2 separate regions of the Homo sapiens genome follow, and region 1 is linked to region 2. The links are contacts of gene promoters, found by promoter capture Hi-C in human tissues and cell types (Jung and others, 2019). All regions are on one chromosome and are shown on one strand. The core of a region is centred on a gene start or on the middle of the fragment in contact, and the rest is flanking DNA. Distances in the headings are between cores, read along the strand shown.

What was found. The method cuts DNA at HindIII sites, captures the fragments that hold promoters and counts their contacts. A contact is called where the count stands out against the background at its distance.
Region 1: a contact is called between a fragment that was not itself captured here and the fragment with the promoter of TULP4 in region 2, in 1 of the 25 tissues and cell types used here (mesendoderm cells).

What each region holds. Positions count from the first base shown.
Region 1 is chr6:158,633,478-158,637,026 of GRCh38, forward strand. It overlaps TMEM181 (transmembrane protein 181), which reads left to right. Exons shown (of 17, transcript NM_001376852.1): 17 at 1-1,952. It overlaps DYNLT1 (dynein light chain Tctex-type 1), which reads right to left. Exons shown (of 5, transcript NM_006519.4): 5 at 2,997-3,420. The coding sequence ends at 3,350. Among named protein-coding and RNA genes, the nearest start is that of DYNLT1, 9.5 kb to the right of the region's middle. The HindIII fragment of the contact is 3,978 bases long and covers 1-3,315 here.
Region 2 is chr6:158,311,132-158,314,891 of GRCh38, forward strand. TULP4 (TUB like protein 4) reads left to right here and starts at 1,334. Exons shown (of 14, transcript NM_020245.5): 1 at 1,334-3,137. The coding sequence starts at 2,886. RefSeq lists an enhancer at 2,958-3,037. The HindIII fragment of the contact is 2,154 bases long and covers 1-1,898 here.

The DNA of each region.
Region 1 (3,549 bases), core at 77-2,576, 320 kb after region 2:
TGAGGTCCAGAAGATGATAGTTCCGCAACGCAAGCAGTACCTACTTTTTTTCTTCATCTATGCATTGACTCTCAGATTACCATGCAGAGCTTCACGTTATCATCCACGTTAAGTAGTGCTAGGTAGGACCTTAGAGATGTTCATGAGAAACTATTTGTTATGACTTTCCTTTGTATCTTTCCTTTTAATTTAAACTTTAATGATAATGTACTTTTAATATGGATTCTATTCACATTTGTTTTAAAAACCTTGTAAATATGAATGTTTAAGACAACTTACTGCAAGGGTAATTCAAGTTTACATGATTTTTAAATTTGCAATGATGTTTTTTTTATTCTGTGTATTGAAAAAAATTTTCTGTTACCAAATTTTACAACTTCTAATAAGACTACTATAACTTTATGTAAACTGATGAAGATGTGCTGATTAACATATTCTGTGATATGGTTTACAACTTTTAATCATAATTGTCCATGATTTTGGAATGCTGTTATTTATCAGTAAATGTAAAATATTTGAGGCATTTAGCCATACACACACTAGAACTTTTTAAAACTTTGTCCTATAGTGTAATTATAAACTGATGACTATTATCTTCATACATTGAGTCTTCATGCATCAATGAAATGAAAAATATAGGATTATTTATTTACTTTTTGTAACTAAGTGGGAAATAAGAAAAAAAGTTAGAAAGTACTTAAGGGGAAAATCGTTCTTACTAAGTCATGTATTTTCAACTTGTCTTCCCTGGTATATCATAAATACCGACATATTACATACCCCATGTAAAATTTTGCTTAAACTCTCTAGCACTTGGCATGTAGAATATGTACCATAGGTATCAGGTTAAAACACTAAAGTCTGCCAGAAACTTTTGACAGTAGCAAGAAAATTGTTGAAGAAAAAATAAATTATTTACTGAGGGTAGTTATGTTAAAGTTTTGCGAACTTAAAGGGCTGACTTTAGTTCCTTCATGGTAATGGCTTGAGTAACATCATCTTTGGGATTTTTTAAATACTGGTCCAGTCTAGGAGAACCTGGAAGATGACCAGAGGTATTTCAGTTTCCCTAGGGAGAGCTTCGTTATCCATGTGGATGATAAGTCTGCTTGATTTATTATTAAATCATTATAGCAGTGAAGTGGTGCCATTTTCTCTCTCTTAAGCCCCATTTGAAAGGCTAGAGAAGGGGATATATATACTATGTTCAAGGTTTGTAAGGTTGTTAATGTACATAATTGCAGATTGCAATAAAAGCTTAGATACATTTTGTAAACCCAACCCACTAAATGAGCAGGTTACAAGACAAATGTCACCAGCCTCAAGTATTTTATGAACTATTTACTGAGGGTAGTTATGTTAAATAGATTATAATGTGGTAAATTATTTCCTGAATCCTTTATCACAGGAAAAACACAGACCCTCATAAAAGGGATAATTAAAACGGATGTGTCTGAACATTTAGTGAAGATGAGACTTAAAACATGAAAGTGTATTTGTGTATTTTGAGGGTTTTAGAAACCGGTTGCCTTAGAGGTTAGACTTTTGAAGAAAAAAAAAAAAAGATACAGATCTTTTCCCCTGGCCAAAGGGAAGTTGTATTAGTCTGTGACATCTTGTGATGCTGTTTATCTTGGTTTGACATTGGAGATACGCTAGTAACTGTGATACCATACTATAAAACAGAAGAATTTTCTGCTACTAAAAACTGCCTTTTTACAAAATGACTGTAAATATTTGTAAAATAAAATAACACTAAACTTTAAGCCCAAAAGGAGAGATAGAGCCATGTGTTCAGTTGTGGACCTGTCCGTGGGGCACAGTGCCACCCCATCACAGTGTTGCTGTCATCAGGCAAAAGTGAATGTTTGTTTATGGCAAATTCGTCTTTTGCGAATGGCTTAATTCTGACACTACCTTTCTGGGAAATGTTAATAAATTTTTAATATTCACTTCTATGTGTCTTGATTTGTTTGCTCTTTGTGTGTGGAGTTAATTTGGCCTTGCAGACATAAATGCTTTAATAAAGCGGCTTTGGAGACAACGGCAGGGCTTTTCCATTTCAGCAGGCAGGCACGGAGGTATCTTTATTGCCATGTCTAATGTGGCCTGGGGAAGAGCACTCAAGATGGAGACAAGGCGTGGGTTTGGGCCCAGCTCCCAACTTGGATGTGTGACTTTAAACCAATCAGATAACCTCCAAACACATTTTCTGAGATTTTTAAATGACTGCAAATTGTTGAAGACACAGAATGAATGATTGTGAAAACCATTTTGTAAGCTCTGAAGTACTAAGACAATTTGTGAGCCCTACAGAGAACACAGGATTAACAGTTAAGGTGTTACAGCTTTGGGCCAAGTGTGAGTTAGAGCTCTCTGGCTAAGAGAATAGAAATTGGTTTGCCCACCTCCCACCCCTTCACCTCTAGAAGAGGAGGGCTTAAGAATGGGAGGTGTGATGCCGAGGGGTAGGAATCTAACCAGAACCCAGCAGAGCCGTCAGGATCCTGGTCCCACGGGTAAAATGAGTACATCATGGAGAGGACCACAGCAGAACTTTTTTTTTTTTGGTTGTATATATATATATATATATTTTTTTTTTTTTTTTTTTTTTTTTTTTTTGAGGCGGACTCTTGCTCTTGTCACCCAGGCTGGAGTGCAGTGGCGGGAACTTGGCTCACGATCTTGGCTCACTACAACCTCTGCCTCCTGGGTTCATGCCACTCTCCTGCCTCAGCCTCCCGAGTAGCTGGGACTACAGGCGCCCGCCACCACACCTGGCTAATTTTTGGTATTTTTAGTAGAGACGGGGTTTCACCGTGTTAGACAGGATGGTCTTGATCTCCTGACCTCATGATCCGCCTGCCTCAGCCTCCCAAAGTGGTGGGATTACAGGTGTGAGCCACTGCGCCTGGTCTGGTTGTATAGATTCTGTAGCCACTCACTATGAAGAAATCGTTTATGATACTATGCAGACTATGAAGAACACAACAGACTTTAGATTTGAATAATTTATTCTAACAAAAGTATAAAGTATGGAAAATTAGTGTATTTGAATCATTTCAGAGAGTAGAGCAAGTTTCACACTAGCAGATTTCAGATTTTAGCACCTTTGAAATGAAATATTCAGAGTTAAGACAAGTGGCAACGCAGGCTGCAGGTGACCTACAGGGATACTCATCTGACTTCGGTGCCATTCACATCACAGTGCGGTCATTTGGTTTTTTCCTCTACATTGTGAAAGTGCCACAAAACAAAGAGAATGAGAAAAGAGTTCACTGAATTCATGGCTGGTGGTTAGAGGATGAACTAGAGACAAAAGGAGAAAGGCCATAGGCTGGACTGCAGGTCAAATAGACAGTCCGAAGGCACTGACGATGCAGTACATGGTCTTATTCTCCCATCGCACAGTGCAGCTCCCTGCGGGAGGGAAGAGAGCAGCATTTACGGCAGGGAAAGCTGGGGGACGACGTTTTACTCACAATAAGGCCAACATTCAAGTACCCATCTCTATGCTACACAAAGAACCTTGGCAAGTCTATTATTAAA
Region 2 (3,760 bases), core at 84-2,583:
TTTGCTGGGACTTGATGCTACAGGCCAGTAGTTCTCAAAGCCTGGTTCCCTGCCCAGCAGCATTAGCATCTCTTGGGAGCTTATTAGAAATGCGAACACCTGGGCCCTTCCCTTCCCTTTCAGTGTCCAGTTCCTGTGGGATGGGGCTGGGCCGCTTCAGCTGCCCCAGGAGACTGAGAGAGTCTGCTGAATTTGAGAAAGTCCACTCTGCTTTCTGGAAGGACTGGCGGGGCGGGAGGGCAGGGAGGATGAGTAAGTTAGGGACAGAGTGTTCTCGTGTTTGTAGAGGATGTGATGCAGCCTGGACTTCAGGCAGTAGGAAGAAGATGGAATGGATTTGCTAGAGACAGATTCTCTAGAACTTTATTGCTGGTAGACCACATAAAAGCTTAGAAAACAGCTGCGCTTTGCTCCGAGACCTGCCAGCCATCAGGGACGAATGAGTTTTAAAGGCCCTTACTGCTTTGTGTCTTGAGGGAATATCTTTTATTAATCGTGAAAAAATCAATCCAGATAACTTGCCTGAGTCATTTCAGTCTCCTTTTTGAGGATGCCTGCTTAAACAGCGACCATGGTCTCTGGAGGGGTAGAGTCTCACATTCGGAGTTCAGTCTCTTAGAAAGTACAGTTCAGTGTGGAAGAATGGCAGTTATGATTTCATTCAGATGTGCCCAGCTGCTGACAAATTGAATACAACGATCAGTGGCAGGCAGAACTCTCATTTGTTGTGTGTTGTCTTGAGTCTGGTGAGGTGTATCCTTTCACTATTGGATTTTACCATTCAGTGCAGTCAGTAGCTCCATTTGATGTAAGTGTAAAGATGGGTCTCTCATTTCAGTTTCAGCAATTATTCTTAAAACCTTTATTTTCCAGTGTTTTAAAGTTTTTAAATTTTATATCTTTTTTTTTTTTTAAACAGATTTGTAAGACTCCAGGGCCTCCCAGCCGTGAATAATCTGATGGTTCCTGAAATGACTGGGGAAGCAGACGCTTCGTATGGCAGTTGAAGAGTGTGTGTCTATGTGCATTTAAAACCTTCTTTCTGTACTTACACATTCACACGGGAAGACAGGCTCATTCTTGTGCACACTTGAGAGTTTTACAACTGATGAAAATTAATTTAAGAATCAGATGGAGCAACTTGACACCAGTGGGCTCAGGAGCCCGGGGAGAAAAATACATCACTAATGGCCAGTTTTCCATATGGTCTGCACGGGTAAAGAAAGTCTGCAAAAAGAAGAAAAAAAAATTTGCGCAGATTAAACCACAAAAATATTCTCCAGTTTAAAGAAGGAACTAAGTGAGAAGGTGACTGAGAAAGAAGTGTGATTTCAAACATTGCAGCGGCTCACACAGTGTTTGTTGCACTTTATTTTTCAGTGGGTTTGGTGATTTGGACGGATTAAAATTCTAGACTGAAAAGTAACTCCTACTGTGGTTATGGCTAGAGGAAAGCAAGTTCAAGTATGATGGGACAAGTTTGAATAATGAACTGATTCCTTTGCCTATCTTAATTAACTGTATTTGAGAAATTTTAATTTATTATTCCCCCCCTTTTTTCCTGCATCTATAGGATAATATTGTAAAATAGCAATTGAAACCAATAATTATTAAATAAATATCAAGGAAAATCCAAGCAAAGCTTTCTTTTTGTTGGACTAGTGGTGTGGTGTTTGGAGACAGTCTCTGAATGTGAACAGGAAAGCACCCATCAGCAAAACACTATCACTCTCTAGGGAGACAGCTGGGGGAATCTGACTCTGGCTTCTGCTTTTGTTTTAAGGGATTAACTTCCCTGTCAAGTCCAAGAAGACTTGCGTATGAGAAGATTACCTGATGGACTTAATTCTAAGATTAGCTTTTTTCATCAAGATGGAAAAAGATCTTTAGGAGCAGAAAAGGGGAGTGCTAACTGGGGGAGCGAGAAGGGAGACGAGCAAAAGAAACAAAATCTTGCCACGTGGCTCTGTTTTGTCAGCAAGAGGATTTAAGACTCACCCAGGGCAAACACTGGGACCACTGTAAGAGCGCTGGAACATTCTGCCTCTTGAGTGAAGGGGCCTTCTTTCTAGCCTCTATGGCACTGAGGGGTGCGCCGGCTGGTGGAGGAGCAGTCCGATGGAGCCCTGCGTTCCCCGGGGACACAGGGCCAAGCTTTGAGGTGGAAAGTTTCTGGTTCTGAAACAACAAGGAGAGAGTCTGTTTTTCTTCCTAAAATTTGGACTCTTGTCTGCACAAACTCTGGTCTGTTTTGCACGGTTTGTGTGCCTTTTTTTCCCTTTATGCAATCTTTTTCAGCTTTAGCAGCAGAAATTTGTCTAGTTCAGGAAACATGCTAGAGGGTGGCTTCAGAAGGAAGATGATCCTGTGTATTCTGTCTCTGCATCCGAACTTTTGAAGAGAAAAATTCGAGCTAGAGGGATTCTTAAAGCCTTAAGTTACTTGAAATCTATGTATTTGCAACCCTTTGTCTCTGGAATCATATTACACTAAACTGGAATCTCAGGCTGAATGAGAATAACCAAGTGGAGTAAAAAGAAGAAAACCGTTTCTTGATCACCACTTAATTAACGATGCTCTTTCTCCAAAGGATCAGCACGTTCTTCCTCTGAGAACTTGAAAATACAAATGGACCCCATGTTTTTTTAAGCATTACCTTTTCTTAGAAGACTGCCATCATCTTTTATAGAGGAATTTTTTCACTATGCATTCGGTGGATCTTTATAAAATACTGACCTTCTAATTAGATTCAGGTCAGTCTTAATTAAAGGGGGAAAAAAGCAACGCAAGCCAACCACAAAAACACATATACCAATGAAAGAAATTGGTTTAAATTTCACAGCATTAACATTACTTTTTAAGTAAAACAGTTCATTGAAGAAAGTATGTATGCAGCAGTGGAACATGGGCCTGTGCTTTGCAGCGATTCCAACATCCTGTGCCTGTCCTGGAAGGGGCGTGTCCCCAAGAGTGAGAAGGAGAAGCCTGTGTGCAGGAGACGCTACTATGAGGAAGGCTGGCTGGCCACGGGCAACGGGCGAGGAGTGGTTGGGGTGACTTTCACCTCTAGTCACTGTCGCAGGGACAGGAGTACTCCACAGAGGATAAATTTCAACCTCCGGGGCCACAATAGCGAGGTGAGCTGTGGTTTTGTTTCACTTTTTGGTCACTTCCAGTGGTGTTTTTGAGCCCCTTGTGGACTTGAAACTTCCTTCATTTCAGTTTCATAGACTTGCTGCCTAGTGAGACTTCCCATGCTGTGAGTTCTGTCTCTTATTCTCTGGCAGAAAAGATGCTAAGATGGACATAGTTCACAGTAGGCTGCGCCTCCCCAGGTGGGTCAGTTGTCCCTGGCACCCCTGCTGTCCTCTCCCTGCACTGTCTCTCTTAGAGGGTCCGGGCAGTGGGAAGACGCCCAGCAGTAGGGAGGCCAGGGCGCTTTCTAACCAGGGTGGGGGGTTAAATTAGATGATCCTAACCAACTTTTCGTGCTCCAAGTCTACATGGCAAAGAGTTACCCCCACCCCTGATGTCCCACTGACAGTGTGAAAAATGAAAGTGGTGCTGCCTTTACCTTGCACGGTTAACATCTACGTTCCTTTGGTGATGGCTTAACACTTGGCTTGTATGTTTTCGTACTTGGAGGTAAAGAAGTAGTTAATGGACAAAAACCATAGTTTTTCACATGTATAGGGTATATTATATTGAGGCTATTATGCCATATATTTGTACATGTAGATTCCTCTGGGCTTCTAAAATA